Linked DNA regions of Homo sapiens: all the other regions are linked to region 1. Evidence: promoter capture Hi-C in 16 types of primary human blood cells and fetal thymus (Javierre and others, 2016). All regions are on one chromosome and are shown on one strand. The core of a region is centred on a gene start or on the middle of the fragment in contact, and the rest is flanking DNA. Distances in the headings are between cores, read along the strand shown.

Region 1 (2,592 bases), core at 24-2,523:
TCCAGGAGAGAGCTGGTGATGGCCTGGAGCAGGGTAGTAGCAATGGATGTGGTGAGGAGTGGAGTGCAATGGCGCCATCTCCGCTCACTGCAACCTCCACCTCCCGGGTTCAAGAGATTCTCATGCCTCACCCTCTCGAGTAGCTGGGATTACAGGCGTGCACCACCATGCCAGGTAATTTTTTTGTATTTTTAGTAGAGACAGCGTTTCGCCATGTTGGCCAGGTTGGTCTCGAACTCCTGGCCTCAAATGATCCGCCCGCCTCTGCATCTCAAAGTGCTGGGATTACAGGGGTGAGCCACCGCTCCTGGCTGATTTTGGCTACATTTTAAAGCCAACAGGATTTGCTCGCATACTGGCCTGGGGGAGGAGAGAGAGTTAGGGAGTCAAGAATAGCTCCAAGGTTTTTGGGCTCAATAACTGTAAGGGAAGAATGGAATTATTTACTGAAATGAGAAAAACTGGAGGATCTTGTTGGGGGTTAAAGCTCAGGTTTTGGACATATTAGCTAAGTTTGAATTACTAGACATTGAAAAGAATTTGTCAAGAAGACATTCGGATATATGAGTCTAGAATTCAGAGGAGAGGTCTGCGCTGAGTATATACATTTGTAAGTCCTCAGTATATGGTATTTAAAAGCCATGAGATTGGATGAAAAACTGTCACCAAGGAAGCGAGTGTGCCTAGAAAAGAGGTCCAAGGGCTGAGTACTGGGCCACGACAATACTTAAAGCTTGGGGAGATTAGGAGGAACCAGCAAAGCAAATCGAGAAGTAATAAATGAAGAGGTGAACTACGTAATGACCTAGAAGCCAAGGGAGGAAACTATTTCAAGACTGATCAATGTGTCAAATGCCGCTAACAAAGCAAGACAAGGCACATTAAAGAATTTGGATTTTTCACGAAACCGAGACACATGCGGGCTTTGTTGTTGTTGTTTTTATGGAGGGAAGTGAGTCCATCGGCCTTATTTGAGCGTTGTGCGGAACAGAGGAAAGCGGGGCGACAAGAGCCCAAAGCACAAGAGACAGGCGTTCTTCTTACCGTGCGACGAAGTGTAGGCCCAGCTGTAAAAGAGAAAGAGACTTGTGAGGAGCAAAGGAACACCTACCCGCTCGCCTCCCGCTTCCCCTCCAGTCCTCTTACAGGAGGTAGCGGGCTTGGCCCGGGCAGCTGTCGTGCAGTCCCCGCGCTGCAGCCTCAAGGTAGTGCTTCTGTCTCATCGCCGCCGCCGCTGCCGCTGGCTCGCCGCGGGAACCAGGTGAGAAAATAGGGCGCCGGAAGTCGGCTTCCCAGCGTCCCCGTCGTTGGTGTCCGGACTCAAGCTGCTTCCGGAAACAGGCACCGTAGGCAGACAGGTTCCGGTTTCCTTCGCGTCCAGTCTGGCTTGGAGGCGTGCCCAGCCGGGAGGCGGCCCCACCCGCCCGCCGCGTCCCCGCCCCCTCAGTTCCACCCCTTGGCCTGCCGGGTCCTCTCAGGCACCCAGCGGAGTTTCGAGTCAGACTTGAGCTCGGGCGTAGCGGCTAGACCGGGCTGTGGCGATAGAGTCCAAAGGTGAGGCTCCCACCCGCCTCTCCATCTTCCTCCCGCCTCGCCTCCTCTCTGACAGCCCTTTTGTGATTGCCCTGCCGCAGCTTCGCCCTCCACATTCGCCGGGCGCGGTACTGACTGGTGCGCCGGCGGGCGGAAGCGCTGCCAGCAACGAGGCGGCCGGGAGGAGCGTCCCCAGTCCAGCCTGCCCTCCGCCTGCGTAAACGCTAGCGTTTCTCTTTTTGTAATTAAAGTGAAATTCACATAACGTAATATTGACCATTTTAAGGTGAACAATTCAGTGGCGTTTAGTAAATTTACAATGTTGTGCAAGCACCATTCTGCTATTTCCAAAATATTTCGCCGAAGGACAGCCAACTCCATGAAGCACTTACGGCCAATCCTCCTCTCCCTCCCAGGCCTTGGCAACCACCAGTCCGCTTTCTGTCTCTATGGATTTACCTATTCTGGGCATTTCATGTAAATGGAATCATACACACGACCTTTTGTGTCTGGCTTCCTTCACCTAGCATAATGTATCAGGTTCATCCACCTTGCAGCACGTATCAGTACTTCATTCGTTGTTATGGCTGAATAATATTCCATTGTATGGCGGTATCACAATGGTTTATCCATTCATCAGTTGAACGTTTGAATTGTTTCTACTTTTTGGCTGTTATGAATGAATGCCGCTGTGAACATGTGTGTACATGCATTTGTTTGAGTGCCTTTTTTCTGTTCTTCGGGGTATAATACCTAAGAGTAGATCTGCTGGGTTATGTAGTAATTCTGTGCTTAATGAGGGTTCCAGTTTCTCCGTATCCTCACCAACATTTGCTTTTCTTTTTCTTTTTTTTTTAAATCTAGCCTTCCTAGTGAGTATGATGTAGCATCTCATTGTGGTTTTGATTAACATTTCCCTGACTACTGATGCTTTTGAGCAGCTTTTCATGTGCTTGTTGGCAATTTATGTATCTTTGGCTGTTTAAGTTCTTTGCTCATTTTTTATTGGAGTTGTCTTTTTGTTGATAAGTTGTAAGGTTCTTTTAATGTGTATGTTCT
Region 2 (2,592 bases), core at 69-2,568, 990 kb after region 1:
CCTGTAATCCCAGCAGTTTGGGAGGCCGAGGCGGGTGGATCACCTCAGGTCAGGAGTTCAAGACCGGCCTGGCCAACATGGTGAAACCCCATCTCTATAAAAATACAAAAATTAGCTGGGCATGATGATGTGTGCCTGTAATCCCAGCTACTCAGGAGGCTGAGGCAGGAGAATCGCTTGAACTTGGAGGCGGAGGTTGCAGTGAGCCGAAATCGTGCCAGCCTGGGCAACAGAGTGAGACTCTGTCTCAAAAAAAAAAAAAAAAAAAAAAAGAAAAAAAGAAAAAGAAAAAGAAAAGAAAAGAAATTGAGGAAGGGGAAGAAAGCATTTAGACAACAGTGCAGAGAGTGATAGTGATATTAAAAATAGTGAAGAGGTATTAAAACTGAAAGAAGAAAAAGAAAGTTTGTTTTTTGATGACTCTAAGATAACCTGTTAAAGATACAGAGAACCAGAGATAACAGGTTATCCTGGAGTAATCCTTTTGGGATGACAGTTTTAAAGGCAAGAAACCTTTGGTTAATAGCCAACATGAGGTTTTATATAAAATGTTAAGTGTAACCATTTCTATTTAAATAGATCATTTAATTCACTCCTGGATGTATAATCAAGTAGTATTTGACTTTTTTGTATGCAAAATTTATGTGTTACATATTCATCCTTTCTGCTTCACATAACTGAAATAACCCAAACCAGTTTACACTTTCCCAACAGTTTTTTTTTTACATGCTTCCCACCAAGAAAGTTACAGGATGTCTAGTTAGCTTTGTGTTTCCCCTTCTAACAGAAGAGAGCATTATATGAAACAGGCAGAATGGTGTGCTACAAAGGGAGTGGCTCCTGCAAGCAAGTAGATCCTGATCAGATATTAAATGTGCTTTCAAAGGAGTGCAGTTTGTGCGTGTCAACAAACTACTCGCTGTAATTACTTCCTATTCACTGGGATCGCTGTGCAGCCTGCTGACTCACCAGGCTGCTGGAGTATGTTTCTGCTGGGTTTTCCTACTGACTGCTACACATGAGTCATCACAGGAATGGAAGTTTCTATCCGTCTCCCTTAACAACAGTGCAGAAACCAGGCATTGAAGTAAGCTTCGATTTTTCCAATCAGACCCTAGCCAGGGAAGGGAAAAATGTTGTGGTAGGTGTCACCACCAGCTAGGCTGCTAGATGACAGTTCCCCGCCCCAGGGTGTTAGTCATCGGCACTCCAGTTTCAGCGTCTTTTCTCTCACCCACCCAAGTAGTTAAAGTGGCATCTTGTCTTGCAATGCCTGCTGCTGCTGGCCGCTGAACTCTTCCTTTGCTGTAGAGTTTCCCCAACTTGGCTGCACAATGAAGTTACCAGGAGTTGTTTTTGCTTTTAAATACTGTGCCTATTTCTCACTCCCAAACAACCTGATTTAAATAGTTTGGGATGTGATCAGGACATCAGGAGTTCTCAAAGCTCCCCAGATGATTCCACTATGCAGCAAAATTTGAGAACCAGTGCTTTGAAGAAGCATAGCTCTACCCACGCAAGGAAAATTTACCAGTTAAGCTTATCTACCAATCACTCGGTGAGCTCCCGGACCTCTTATCTTACCCCTAACTGATGTCTTTAATCAGTTTGGCAGAAAAGAACGAAAGCAAAGTAAGGAAGCATTTCATTTCCAGAGGGGACACTGGCTAACCAAGAGCCATACCCCTTTTTGCTTGATAAAAATTTGGCCAAATTTAGCGTTCAGGAGAAGCAGGGGAAATGTTGCCATTCTTCAGATTACCTTTTGATCTCTGTTCTGTTTCATTCCACAGTGTCCTATTCAGCAAAAGTGTAAATCGCGGGTCCTCAGATTAGAAGTAGGTGCTGCGTCTGACCACAATCGCAACCGGTCTGCACACTTCACCCCAGCTGGGACCGAACCTCCGCCTCGCAGCGCGGCCCCAGGGTCGATACTATGCTAATCAAGGAAGTTCTTCCGTTTCGGTGCGCGCGGGCGCGGGTTTGAGCGCTTAACCCTTCATTCTACATTGACAGCACGATAGTATTTTTAGTGACCTCTTCCTGCCTAGCGGGTCTACACTATTTTCCTTTTGTTCTTCTTTTTTTGGAAAAGGAGATGTGAACAAGTGATAGAGAAGACAATCAGGGAGGGGACAGCAGTGTTGGCTGGTGCGGAGGTGAAGGAAAGGCTAATGTTCGTAATATTAATTACTCCCAGCGCTACTGACCCAGCGAGGACTAGCAGGAGGGGCTTGGGGGTTAAGACAAAGGCTTCTCCTGATCAAATGGCTGCAGCGCCCCTTCTCCGAGGTTACGGCTCTGCCCTTGGCACTGTATTGACGAAGTCACTGGAGGAGTGACCAAACCCACTAGCCCTTTTGGGGTCTGAAAATCAGCTTTATCGAGCGCCCCAGGTTCAGAGGGGACCGCTTTCCGCGTCCACCCCTCTCCTGGCTCTTTGTGGGATTTCTGGCTTCCGCATAGCCCTTCTAAGGGTAGACCGAAGAATTTCCCACTAAGCCGAGTGCGAAGTCGCTGAGTAGCCCTCGCCCTGCGCTCCCGGGGCTCCCTGCAGAAGAGATGCTTGGGCGCAGAATAACAACCCGCTTC
Region 3 (2,592 bases), core at 38-2,537, 950 kb after region 1:
AGAGATACAGAGACGTAAAGTTTTCAAACCTTTTCATGTTAGAAGTTATCTATTTGTTTTTATATTTTATTGATAGTTGAAATGTCCAAAATCACTTCCCTCAGAACTTTGAAAGCATGGTTCCACTGCTTCTGAGGCTTCAGAATTGCATATTGATGTCTATAACATTCAGGTGATCACTCTTCTGTATGTAATCACTCTTCTCTCTGACCCTCAAGCTCTAACATCTCTTTTATTCTGAAATTTCATGAGGGTGGACCTAGGTTTGGGTTTTTTAAATTCATCGTGGTCAACATTCAGTAGCCTCTTTTAATCTGAATCTTTATGCCTTTATTTCTTTGTCTTCAATGTCTTCTTGAAACTCTTCATAAAGAATGCCAGGCCATTTAGATCATTCTTCTATTTCTCTAATACTTTTCTAGTATTTTCTGTCTTTTCATCTTTTGCTTTATACCCTGTGATACTCTCAGCCACACTAAGTCCAATTGATTTTTGATTTAATTATATTTTTAATTCGCCAAAGCTCTTGCACTTTCTGATTACCTCTTATTCATAGCAACTCTTTTTTTCTGGGAGGAGTGGGGCCGTGAAGTTTAAGGGATGCAATACTTTTTGTCTGTTTAAGGATATTTATTAAACGTTTTCTTCTATTCTCTGAATTACTTCATCTAAATTAGCTATTTTATTTCTTTTTCAATTTTTGCTCTTATTTAGCTGGCAATATAATCCTATGCCCTTTCCATCTTCCAGAACTTTGTCCATTTCTGGTCCCCATTCATGTTTCTGTAAGTGTCATGGATTTGCTCTCCTTTTTAAATTTTGTTATTTCAGTTGAAGAGCTGGGAAGATGGGAGCAAAACTGTATTTAGACTGTCATCTTAAAACTCACGAATTTTTCTAGAATATACTTGCATCATGTTCAACATTTCCCTCATTGTCTAAAATATAAAGCTTAAGTAATGGTCTGGTATTTGGGACTCTGCACAGTTTGACCCTAGCTTATCTTTCTTCCTTAATCCTCCATTATTCACACTAAAGTACCAGGTTCTCTCTGCCCCCTTGAGATGGCCTACATTTCATTTCTCGCCTGGAATGTCCTTTTTCCTTTCATCTACCATTTTACACAGGCAGGCTCGGCTCAAAGACCACATCTTCTGAAGTCTTTTTGAACATTCCAGGATACCCCTAATTCTGTATCAGTTAAAAATATGTATTGAGTTCCATCCAGACAAATAATTCTGTTTCTTGTGCCAGCAATGGCAATTTTTCCAACCAGAATTTTCTTCTCTGCCATTTTTAGTATATAATCTAAAATCATTTTACCTAAATGAAAATTTAAAAGCAAATGCTTCATGTTTTTATGTCTCACTATACAACGAAAATATCAAATTTATGGACACAGCTTTTTAAATAAAGTAATGTTCTCGAGCCAGGAAATTTTTATTTTATAATTGAGGGGATACGTTTTCTTGAGTAGGAGGCAAGAGTGGTTAGATAGTCTTATTCGAAGACACCTTTACAGAAATAGGTTGCTTCTGGTCAGAGGCAATAATATCAGTATACAAATGTTCTAAGCACTCACTGCACATTTTTTTTTTTTTTGACAAGCCAAGGAAAGCTTTTCTCTAAGCTAAGCACTCACTAAAAGAGGGTGCAAATGGTTCAGGCCAGCTTATAAACCGAAGTAATGTTGCATGAATGGCATTACCTGACACAGGTTTGAACATGGCACTCACCAAGGGCGAAAATAAAGTTAAAGAATTCCATGAGAGAAACTACCAACCAAATATAAAGCATAGTCATTGCCTTGAAAAATCATAACAGAATAACACATCAGCATCCAAAGTAGGATTTAGAGTCCAGCTGGAGAATAAAATATCCTCATGGCCTAGAATCGAGTTCTTTAGGGAGGCACTCTGGGGCTTATCTTGACCTGTATTATTCATTTTTCCTTCTGTAGTTTGATGTTATCCTGATAATCTGTGATTCATCTGAATTGCTTTCTTGAAGACTGAAGCACAGCTAATTTTAGAACAGAGACAAACACATCATGCACACATTTTAAGCAGAATGATATTTGAGGTAAGGGGTGCTGAAAATCTGTGTCATCCACAGTACAAGTAGCCAGGCAACCTGAGGCCGAGCTGATTTTACAGAACTCAGAAGTATGTATTAAGTATCTAATGTCTGGGGAGATAAGTAAACTAGAATGCCTCATCCATTGTTCTTAAGAATATTATTATTTGGAAAGCAAAAATTATACATGTGAAAAAGGTTTTAAAAATCTGAGGTAATATCCAATCAGGAATTCCACGCTGTAATAGAAAACATGTTATATTCACAGGGATATGGGGACACATAGGTATGAGATTGCCACTCAGAGTATTATTTAACCAGTTATGATCTATAAGTTTCAGGCACACCAAAGTTAACTTTGAAACAGACTCCATATGGCAAACAATGGCAAGTTGGATAAATAATGGTCAACTCTACAGACTATTTGACACACATTAAAACATGTCTACAATCATGAATATGTACTGTAGCATGGAAAACTGCTTATGACATAAAGTAAAGAAGAAGAAAATAAAA
Region 4 (2,592 bases), core at 27-2,526, 870 kb before region 1:
GAAAGTAAAAGCAGATATCCCCTGCTTAAATACTGGGGTTTATTAGGAAAACAACTTTCCCTTTGTGAATGTCATAGAAACAAATACTCAACAGAAGATACTGAGAACTGTTATTACACCATAGTCCCCACGCTGCTTAAGGGTATACGAAGATTAGCAGCAGAGGCACCAGTTACTAAGCATTCAAAATATCCTAAGGTTCATCCCAAAGAGTACTAAACCAAAGAGTAATAATAGCAATAGCTAACAATTACATCTAGTGCTCACTTCATGCCAGGAATATTGTAAGCACTTTGTACTTACTATTCCATTTTATTTGCACAACAACGCTATTAAGTATTAATAGTTACTATTCCTATTCTACTTTAAGGGTACATATCCAGGATTATAGCAATTAAATAGCAGAATCAAGACTTAAACACAGGTTCCAGAGTCTGTGCTCTTTAAACACCATATTATTCTAATCTTTTGTGCTACAAAAACTTTTCCCCAGCACCTCAGCATCATTAGGAGGGGTCCTTAAAGACATAAACTCAGGGAGTCACGAAGGAATCGTAGGTAACATGTAAAAGGAAGGAGCTGTAATCCTTGGCATTTGCGCAACCACCAAAGTTAAGTTAGTCCAATTACCTCGGGTAGCCAAGAATAACTGAAAACACCTAAAGTGAATTCTGGAAATAGTAATAGCCGAAGGTGGGAAAGAGAGTAGGGAAAAAAATGGAGAAAAGAAGATGATAATAAAATAAGCTTTGGTTTTAGAAATGCTCAATGTAAGATGCCAGCAAACCATTCATGTGCAAACGTCTAGGCAGGAAGCTGGAAAGGTAGGTCTAGCTTTCAAACTAGAGAAAATCATAAAGATTTAAAAGTCAGTGTATGGTATTATGGATAATGTTAAGATTTTTTATTATTCTTTATACTTTTCTATGTTTTAAATTTTTCTTTAATAATTATGTATTTAAAATTAAGAAAAAATATTAGTATTTTAAAAATCATCTACAAGTCCAGGAAAATTGGCATTTGATTTTAATTTCAATTTAAGTAATTGGATTTTAGTTTAATTTAAAGTGGCATTTGAAAGGACAAGTGGAGAATCAGAAGCATATAACATTGTAGGAGAAAACAAGAAAGAAAAAGTTTCAAGAATAGTGTGGGTTCAACAGTGCTAATGATTAAAAAAGACAAATAGACTGGGGGAAGAAGGCAATGGATTTGGCAATGGAGGAAGTTGCTGATAACCCATGAAAAGACATTTCATTAGTGATGTGCTGAGTAAAAGAACAAAAGAGAAATCTTTGTAACTAGGCAAAAAAAAAAAAATAAATAATTAGTGGCATTGTGTTAACAACAGCAAAAATCTGAAAAGGCAAATGTCTATTAACTACAGAATAGTAAAACTGTGGCTGGCATATTGATACAATGAAATTCTAGAGGTACTGGTAGCTATGATACTAACTTTCCCCCTCAAAACTACCCTTCCACCCTCTGCTTTGAGATGCTAAGTCTAAGACTCTGGAAACACCATTTCTCCTTCGCCACCTGGCACTCTGTTGAACTCTGCCAACACAAAGAACTAGATGAAGACCAGGAAGAAAGAAGGAAGGCTACTTCCTTCCTGTTACTGACAGTGTCACCCCTGAGTTCCTTACCCTGGCAAGTACTGCTGATTCCAGTTTGCAATTTTTTCCAGCCCTTACAGAACCAGCCTTTATCAGGCCTCCTCAGAAATGGCAGTACCAGCCGGGTTGGTGTCCCATCACCAGAGGTCCAAGTTGCAGCTTTAAGGGGCCCCTCCTCTAAGCTTCTAAGTTTCAATAATTCCGACTTATTCTGCCCTCTCATCCAGTTCTAGAGATTGTGGTTGTTTCTTATAGTTACTACTTTCATGATACTTTAATGTTCCCTTTTTGCCTTTTTGGTTCTCGCACTATTCAATAATTTTTCTTTTAAATATTCTAAGTTAAAATAACTGACTAAACCCCGAGACGGTGAAAAGAAATGAAATATAACTACATACAACATAAAGAAATCTCACGTAACATTGGAAGAGCCATAGAGGGAAAAAAAAACAAGAAATCTCATAAACATAATATGAAATAAAAAGCAAATCACACAATACAAATGGATATGAGCTCATTTATATAAAGTTCCAAATATATATGAAATACTGTTTCAAAAAAAATGTATTTACACTGTAGGACAGGGCTTGGTAAACCATGGCTGCAAGCCGAATCTGGCCCACTGGCTGTTTTTGTAAACAAAGGTTTATTAAAACGTGCTCATTCATTTGCATATTGCTTATGGCTCTTTTAATGCTACTGTGGCAGAGTTGAGTTGTTGAGACAGATGTTACAGCCTGCAAAAGTTAAAGTATTTACTACCTGTCCAATTTATAGAAAAAGTCGGCGAACCCCGATATGGAAAAACAAAAGAATTATAAAGTTCAGGATACGAATTACCAAAGAAGAAAACATGATGAGGAAAGGCCACATATCTACAGTCACTTGACTTACAACAATGGTATCATTGCAATTCAAAGAAGAAAAGAATCCTCTTCCCAGTAGATGGTGTTGGGCCAATACTGACAGTCTA
Region 5 (2,592 bases), core at 45-2,544, 710 kb after region 1:
GGAATCTCTCAGACGCAAATCTCCATCTCCTCCCTGCCTCACCTGGGCAGCCTTTTCAGACTGTCTCTGCCCAGAATGTCAGGAGAGGCCACAGTCTTGGCCTACCATGCTCCAGAAGAACAGGAAGGACTTCTAGTTGTCAAGGTTGAAGAAGAAAATTATGTTTTGGACCAGGACTTTGGCCTTCAGGAAAACCCCTGGAGCCAAGAGGTATTCCGGCAGAAGTTCAGGCAGTTTAGTTACTCTGACTCCACTGGCCCTCGGGAGGCTCTGAGCCGGCTGCGAGAGCTTTGCTGTCAGTGGTTGAGGCCGGAGGTGCACTCCAAGGAGCAGATCCTGGAGCTGCTGATGTTGGAGCAGTTCCTGGCCATCCTTCCTGAGGAGCTGCAAGCTTGGCTGCGAGAGCATCGGCCAGAGAATGGAGAGGAAGCTGTGACTATGCTGGAGGAGCTGGAAAAAGAACTGGAGGAGCCAAGGCAACAGGTAAGAAGTAAACATTTTTGTTTGTTTGATCTATTGTAAGTTAATGGGGAAGCCATAATTATGACTGGGGCATTGACTCAGCTCTCAGAGAATTATACAGTTTCTTTCTTTTGGGTTATTAATTATTCACTCATTGGGTTCAAGTCACTAGGGCTCTTAAGGTCCTGTTTTTTTTCTCTCTAATCATTTGAATGAGTTTTTGATTCTTCTGTTCCTGCCCTGTTGCTCTAGGAGTTTTCTGCTTGTGTATCCTCAGAATGATAGTGCTGGTACTTGATTACTCCTAGGACACAACTCATGGCCAAGAAATGTTCTGGCAGGAAATGACATCCACAGGAGCACTGAAGTCTCTGTCTCTGAATAGCCCGGTGCAGCCCTTAGAGAACCAGTGCAAGACTGAGACTCAGGAGTCCCAGGCTTTCCAGGAGAGAGGTGAGAAGCCCCAGTCCATGTGGGGTTGAGGATGGAGGTGAGAGCTATCAACTGTGGCACGGTTCATTTTCTTAACGACAGCCACTTGTGGCTATCACTAAGTATTGTGGAAAGGCTTCTTTGCCTAGAAATATTCTTCCTTAGGCTCTGCCTAGAATCTGAAATTCCAGTATCATTTGTAACTTTGGGTTAAGAATTAAAGTCTTTAGTAAAATTCTCTAATACCCATAATTATTTTTTTTCTTTTTCTTTTTTCTTTTTTTTTTTTTTAGATGGGGTCTCACTCTATCACCCAGGTTGGAGTGCAGTGGTGCAACCACAGCTCACTGCAGCAGCCTTGAACCCCTGGGTTAAAGTGATCCTCCTGCCTCAGCCTCCAGAGTAGCTAGGACTACAGTTGTACACCACCATGCCTGGCTAAATATCCATAATATTCAAAGCTCAGTATTCTGTTATTTAATTTTGGCTTCATTGGCAAGACAGTCCCTAAGATGGAGATGAATACATTTTCAGTAATAGAAACCACATAATCATTTGAACAGGGAAAGTTTAATGTTAAGAATTATTAACTACTAAGTGTTATAACAAAAAGTGAAACTCAAAAGAATACAGCAATAACAGATATAGAGTGTCTCTAGGGCTGAGGCAGAACATCAAAGGTAAGAACAAATTTGCAGGAGGGTGCCACAACTTCCCCTTTCCTGCCAGGTCTTAGATCCAGGCCTTGTTGGAGAGGGCACAGCCACAGCCCACTGGATGGAGATGCCACTGCAGTGCTGAGCTGGCAGAACTCACTGAGGAGCCACACTCTGGGGTGCTAGAAGCTCCCCATGGGGAGCTGACCTGGTACAGAACTTGCTGGGAAGCTACCCATAGGGATGGGGCCTTTGGAACTCATTGGGATGTGCACTGCTGGGTGTCCCATGTGCTACAGAAACAAACACAAAGAACATGCCAGAACCAGGAAGAAAAGCCCTTTCTTCCAGTTCCTCTGCAACCCCCTCTATTGATAAAGCTCACAGCATGCCAGCTGGCAAATAGTCCAGTATCACAGACAGGGCAATGAAGCGTAGATTTGAAACTGAGGCAATAAATTGATAGCTGTCACAGATGCCAGGGATTAGAACTGAAAGGACTTTGATTATGTTATTGGCAAAATCATCCTTATGGGCAGCAGATATATCAGGTATACCAGCTTGTTCTCATTAATCTTTTGTTAAATCTGACTACCCTTCTGATTTTGTCTTCACCAAGCAATCTTATTAACTTCCTATGAAGCTTAGCTGTAATAAGAAAATTGCATTTGTTCAGTCTGGTCCATGTGATGGTTACATTACTCATTAATTCTCATTCTGTTTTTATTACTGAGTTTCACGGGCTTAGTTATTAAGAGTCTACCCCAAGAGATAAATCTATTTTTTGTATGATGATAAAATTAGGTATATGAGGACCTAAGCCCAAAGGCCAGACCCTGGACCTCGGCAGTTCACCAAAGGAATCCATACCATCCATCCACTGAATTCTTCTGGGAAACTGCTTCCCAACCTTCCCCAGGCATCATACCCTGATACTACCATTAGCCAAGCAGGCCCTCTTAAGTATCTTCTGCACCAAGCAGGTGCTACATTAAAACGGGTTTTGAAAATTCATCTCAAGGAAATCAAGCTGTCTCTATTT
Region 6 (2,592 bases), core at 37-2,536, 610 kb after region 1:
CCCATCATTTCCTCTCCCTCTTCTGAGAATGAGAGAGGGGCCTCTCCCCCGTCTGAGAATGAGAGAGGGGTCTCTCCCCTCTGAGCCTCAGCATTCTCACCTCTGAAAGGCCTTGGCTGCCAGTCATTCTTCCTCTCTTCTATTTCTTCACTCTCTGCCTTCCTTCTGCATCCATCCCTTCAACACTTAAATATGCTGTTGTGACCCTGCCTCCTACCCTATATTTTTCCAGCTTACACTGGCAAAATTCAAGATGGTGGCTAGTCCCTGAGTGAGGGGAATTATGTGGCCCTTAACTTTCCCCTCTTCATATGCATTCATCTCTCAACCAGAGTAATCTTGCTAAGGCATACATTTTATCATGCCCTTTCCCTGTCTAAGACATAGGCTTTCCCTTGTTTTAGGATAAAGTCAGAACTGCTAAACAAGATTGTTAAGGCTCTTTGTGATCTGACCACAGCTTACCACTTCAGCTTCAGCTCTTGCCATTGCCTCTATGCTTCAGCCATTTTGAAATATCAGAAGTCCTCTAGCCTTTGGACCTTTCCATGTACTCCTTTTGAACTCCTATCTAGCTTTCACATGTTACCTAATTCCTGTGTGTTCTTCATGTTTTAGTTTAGGTACCACTTCTTCCCTAACACCCAAAGAGTAGGTTGGAGAGCACCACCACACTCTTATGTTAATTGCATATCAGTCTGTTCTTATCCTTACCATTACATTTATCTCATGAAATAAAATATTTTTAAAGTATTAAATTACAAGTATGGCTGCAAGGAAGAGGAGAATAAATGACACCTTGGGATGGAAAAAGTTATGGAGTAGCAAAAAGAAAAATTTTTAAGGCTCTCCTAGTCCTGGGAAGAGTGAGTCAATGAGAGGGTCAGGCACAGGGTGTCCTTTCACCTCTGTTGCCCAACCCTGCAGAATTTTGGAGGGGGTTAGGGGAGAATCAAGGGGAGAAGGCTGTGCCCCCTTGCCATTGAGTGCATTGGGAGGAAAATTGTTGAACAGACTGCTAGTGCTCCAACACTGAACTCTCATAAAAACAGCCATTCAGTGTTAGGTAAATGGCTTCTATCAGCTAGTATGTGGCTTGAAAGAGATACGGCAGTTCTCTGTGCCCAGTGGGAACCTTGGAAAATAGCTGACTATAGAGCTGGAAAGTTGGGATAGTTGAGCAAGTAACCTTGTGGATCCTGTAGCTAAGAGCTGCAGGGCCCACCAGACCTTACTGGGGACCTATAGCTCTTCCTAGAAACAAAGTGGAGGCAAATCACCAAGGAAGAGACACTGGCCCCCAGCCCAACCAAAAAAACAGATGATTTGTTGCCGCAGGTTTGGTGAGCAAGCACCACAGAAGACCAGCTGCCCAGAATAGAAACCAGAGAAGATCAGAACAGCAAGCCCACCTAACACCTAATCCATAGCACCACCTCATCACAGGGAATGTATGCCCCCCTCACCTTCCCAAGCAGGTGGCAGAAAAGGGCAGAGTGAGAAATAGCCATGAGAGGGAGTTGAACTTAAAATGGACTGAATAATTCAATTTCATAATAACTAAATATAGCAATTTAATTCAGCTCTTTCACCACCCACCCACCCACCCAATGGGGCAAGGATTCAAGAAAAAAGATTATCAGTTATAAAAAATAAACTACATTTTCCTTTGCTTATTTGAGAAGCAATGTGATAACTTTTTGCCCTGCTAAATGGAGATTATATCTATTTCTGTATTGACTCCACTATTTCATGCTGCCTGAGAGCATAAGCTGCCTCATTTACCATTGTTTCCCAAGCATCTGGCACAGTACGTGGCCCATAATAGGCACTCAAATACTTGTGGAACAAAAATATTTGAAAATTATATATCTGATAAGGGATTACTATCTAGAATATATAAAGAACCCCTCCAACTCAACAACAACAGAAATTTCAAAAATGGGCAAAGGTCATGAATAGACACTTCTCAAAGAGGATACCTAAATGGCCAATAAACACATGAAAAGATGGCCAATGTCACTAATCATTAGGGAAATGCAAATCAAAAGCACAATGAGATACCACTTCACAACCATTAGGATGGTTATTATTTTAAAAAGAAACAGGTATTGGAAAAGATGAGGAGAAATTGGAACCTTTGCACATTGCCATTAGGAATGTAAAATGGTGTAGCTGCTATGGAAAACAGTTTGGTGGTTCCTCAAAAAGTTAAACAAAATTCTCATATGATCCAGTAATTCCACTTCTATGTATATATTCAAAAGATCTGAAAGCAGAGACTCAAACAGGTATCTGTATGCCAATGTTCATAGCAGCATTATTTGAAATAACCAAAAGGTGGAAACTACACAAATGACCATCTACATATGAATGAATAAACAAAATTTGGTATAGACATACAACAGAGTATTATTCAGCCATAAAAACAAATGAAATTCTGATACATGCTACAAGGATGAACCTTAAAAACACTATGCTAAGTGAAATAAGCCAGACATGAAAGGGCAAATGTGATTCTGCTTATTTGAGGTAACTAGAATAGGCAAATTCATAAAGACATAAAGTCAAATAATGATTATCAGGGGCTAG
Region 7 (2,592 bases), core at 56-2,555, 570 kb after region 1:
GTATAATAAAATTAATTTGTTAATTAATAAAGGTTTCAAAAAAGTATATAATTACATTCAGTGGCCTTTCTCAGTGTAAACATGCCCTGGTGTAGACATAAATTACAGTCACTCTTATTAATTGTGTCTTCTCTTTTTTTCTTGAAGGGTCTCACCAGTGGTTTATTGATTGGATGTCTTTGAAAGAACTATAGCTTTGTTATCATTTTTATTGTATGTATTGTATTACATACACATTACATTATGTATTGTATTACATACACATATACATTATGTATTGTATTACAATAAAAATGTAATACATTTTTATTGTATTTATCATTTTATTGTATGTTTTCTTTTTTTATTGTTTTTATTTTATTTCTAATATGTTCTTTCTTCTACTGTATTTTGCTATATTTTATTGTTCTTTTTCTTTTTTTTTTTTTTGAGACGGAGTCTGGCTCTGTCGCCCAGGCTGGAGTGCAGTGACGCCATCTCGGCTCACTGCAAGCTCCGCCTCCCGGGTTCACGCCATTCTCCTGCCTCAGCCTCCCGAGTAGCTAGGACTACAGGCGCCCACCACCACGCCCCGCTAATTTTTTGTATTTTTAGTAGAGACGGGGTTTCACCATGTTAGCCAGGATGGTCTCGATCTCCTGACCTCGTGATCCGCCCACCTCGGCCTCCCAAAGTGCTGGGATTACAGGCGTGAGCCACGGCACCCAGCCTATTGTGCCTTTTCTAACCTTTTGAAATGAATGCTTTCTTTGTTAATTTTCACCTTTTATGCACTAAAGATTACAAGTTTTCTTTTCAGTACTGCCTTAGCTACATCTTACATTTTAATGTGTAGTATTTTACTACCATTTACTTATTTTAATTGGGAGTTAATTGTTATTCATTTTAGTATTTTTAATTTATATTTAAATTACTTTAAATTGACAAATAAATTGGATATATTCATCATGTACCACGTGATGTTTTGAAATATGTATACATTGTAGAATGGCTAAATCAAGCTAATTAACATACTCATTACCTTACATACTTATCACTGTGGTGAGAACATTTAAAATCTACTCTTGGTGATTCAAGATATCACCATTTAATTTAAAATGTTTTATAATATTCATTGTAAATTATTTTTGGACACATGGATTATTTAGAAATATATTTTATAATCTCCAAACATAAGAATATTTTTAAAGTTGTCTTTTTGTAATTTTGTAATTAATTTCTAGCTTAATTGCATTGTGGTAAGCAAACATTCTGTATAATTTTAATCCTGTGAAAATTGTGTATGATTTTCAACCCTGTGAGATTTGTTGAGACTTACTTTAGAGCCCAGCATATGGTCAGTTTTGGTGAAGATTCCATGCGTCCTTGAAAAGAAAATGTATTCAGCAGTTGTTGGGTGCAGTATTCTGTATATTCTGTATATATTAAATATATATTCTATATTCTGTATAGAAATCCAGTTTATTAATTGAATTGTTCAAATCTTCTAAATTTTTGCTGAGTTTTTTGTCTGCTCAATTCTATGTTTCCAAGAGAAATACAGGATATTAGCTACAAGACTTCTGTACATGCTAAATAACAGTGACTTAAACAAGACAGAGAGTTTATTTCCCCTTGGTGTGAAAGTCTCAGTAGGTGGGTGAACAAGGAGTGTATGTGTCTCTGCAACTTACTATTATTCAGGGATCCAGGTTATTCTATCTGTGGCTTCAGCCAACCCCTACAGGGTTGTTCACATCTACCAGGTAGAAATAGGCCAATCATTTGCATGACCATTTTCTACTTTATAGAAATAAAATGTAAGCTGAGAGCAAGGAGCTTTCTTTTCAGGATATGAGTGGGAAGTTACTTACACACATGGTCACACCTTGCTGCATGGGGGGCTGGGAGGTGTTTTGCCCTTGAGTGGCTGTATTCATTTCCTACTGCTGCTGTTACAAATTACCACAAACGTGGTGACTTAAAACAGCATGAATTTATTGTTTTACAGTTCTAGAAGTTAGAAGTGTAAAATGGTCTAACTTGGCTAAAACAAAGGTGTTGTCAGGGCTGTGCCAACAGCCTTGGAGCCTTCTAGAGGCTACATGAGAGAATCTGTTTCCTTGTCTTTTCCAGCTTCTAGAGATCGCCTACATTCCATGGCTCATGGCCCCTTCTTCCACCTTCACGTCCAGCAATGTAGCACATTCGTTTCTCTGACTCCAACCTCTTCTTCTGCCTCCCTCTTCCATTTAAAGACCCTGTGCTTACACTGGACCCACCAGGATTATCCAAGATAATTTCTTATTTTTAAAGTTAGTTAATTAGCAACCTTAATTCCATCTGCAATCTTAATTCCCCCATGCCAGGCAACATAACATAGTCACAGGTTTCAGGGATAGAACATGGCCATCTTTGGAGAACATTAGTCTGTCTACCACACCTGCCATTCTCAATGTGCTTGCATTTCATTTTTTGCTTTATTATCTCATGATTTCCAAACCGTGCAGCTTCAAGCATCACTTTCTTACACAACTGCATTGAAGTCAGGAAGAAAATGGCAAGGGGGAAAGGGCTTTCCTTTTATCAGGAGCAAAGTCTTTCCCAAATGCT

What was found. Contacts are between HindIII fragments. The CHiCAGO score rates a contact against its expected background, and 5 or more counts as called.
Region 2: a fragment that was not itself captured here is called in contact with the fragment with the promoter of RMP24 in region 1 in 6 of 17 cell types (total CD8 T cells, fetal thymus, non-activated CD4 T cells and 3 more); the score reaches 12.9 in total CD8 T cells.
Region 3: a fragment that was not itself captured here is called in contact with the fragment with the promoter of RMP24 in region 1 in 1 of 17 cell types (total CD4 T cells); the score reaches 5.8 in total CD4 T cells.
Region 4: a fragment that was not itself captured here is called in contact with the fragment with the promoter of RMP24 in region 1 in 1 of 17 cell types (total CD8 T cells); the score reaches 5.6 in total CD8 T cells.
Region 5: a fragment that was not itself captured here is called in contact with the fragment with the promoter of RMP24 in region 1 in 3 of 17 cell types (non-activated CD4 T cells, total CD4 T cells and activated CD4 T cells); the score reaches 5.5 in non-activated CD4 T cells.
Region 6: a fragment that was not itself captured here is called in contact with the fragment with the promoter of RMP24 in region 1 in 2 of 17 cell types (M2 macrophages and naive CD8 T cells); the score reaches 6.8 in M2 macrophages.
Region 7: a fragment that was not itself captured here is called in contact with the fragment with the promoter of RMP24 in region 1 in 10 of 17 cell types (neutrophils, naive B cells, megakaryocytes and 7 more); the score reaches 8.2 in neutrophils.

What each region holds. Positions count from the first base shown.
Region 1 is chr18:35,971,360-35,973,951 of GRCh38, reverse strand. It overlaps RMP24 (ribonuclease MRP subunit p24), which reads right to left and starts at 1,273. Exons shown (of 5, transcript NM_031446.5): 1 at 1,147-1,273; 2 at 1,045-1,067. The coding sequence starts at 1,223. It overlaps LOC105372066 (a long non-coding RNA gene), which reads left to right and starts at 1,501. Exons shown (of 4, transcript NR_188032.1): 1 at 1,501-1,554. RefSeq lists an enhancer at 591-1,483 and silencers at 1,403-1,552, 1,492-1,786. The HindIII fragment of the contact is 7,007 bases long and covers 736-2,592 here.
Region 2 is chr18:34,977,712-34,980,303 of GRCh38, reverse strand. It overlaps a transcript of MAPRE2 not described here. Among named protein-coding and RNA genes, the nearest start is that of MAPRE2, 62 kb to the left of the region's middle. RefSeq lists enhancers at 1,382-1,881, 838-2,037, 1,882-2,383. The HindIII fragment of the contact is 447 bases long and covers 1,095-1,541 here.
Region 3 is chr18:35,019,562-35,022,153 of GRCh38, reverse strand. It overlaps a transcript of MAPRE2 not described here. Among named protein-coding and RNA genes, the nearest start is that of MAPRE2, 21 kb to the left of the region's middle. The HindIII fragment of the contact is 667 bases long and covers 954-1,620 here.
Region 4 is chr18:36,841,403-36,843,994 of GRCh38, reverse strand. All of the region lies in intron 3 of KIAA1328, which reads right to left. Among named protein-coding and RNA genes, the nearest start is that of KIAA1328, 14 kb to the right of the region's middle. The HindIII fragment of the contact is 1,054 bases long and covers 750-1,803 here.
Region 5 is chr18:35,261,836-35,264,427 of GRCh38, reverse strand. It overlaps ZSCAN30 (zinc finger and SCAN domain containing 30), which reads left to right. Exons shown (of 4, transcript NM_001112734.4): 2 at 1-483; 3 at 771-915. The coding sequence starts at 76. Among named protein-coding and RNA genes, the nearest start is that of ZNF397, 22 kb to the right of the region's middle. The HindIII fragment of the contact is 1,802 bases long and covers 394-2,195 here.
Region 6 is chr18:35,363,432-35,366,023 of GRCh38, reverse strand. No RefSeq gene overlaps it. Among named protein-coding and RNA genes, the nearest start is that of ZNF396, 13 kb to the left of the region's middle. The HindIII fragment of the contact is 3,105 bases long and covers 1-2,592 here.
Region 7 is chr18:35,399,156-35,401,747 of GRCh38, reverse strand. All of the region lies in intron 2 of LOC105372063 (a long non-coding RNA gene), which reads left to right. Among named protein-coding and RNA genes, the nearest start is that of ZNF396, 23 kb to the right of the region's middle. The HindIII fragment of the contact is 2,979 bases long and covers 1-2,592 here.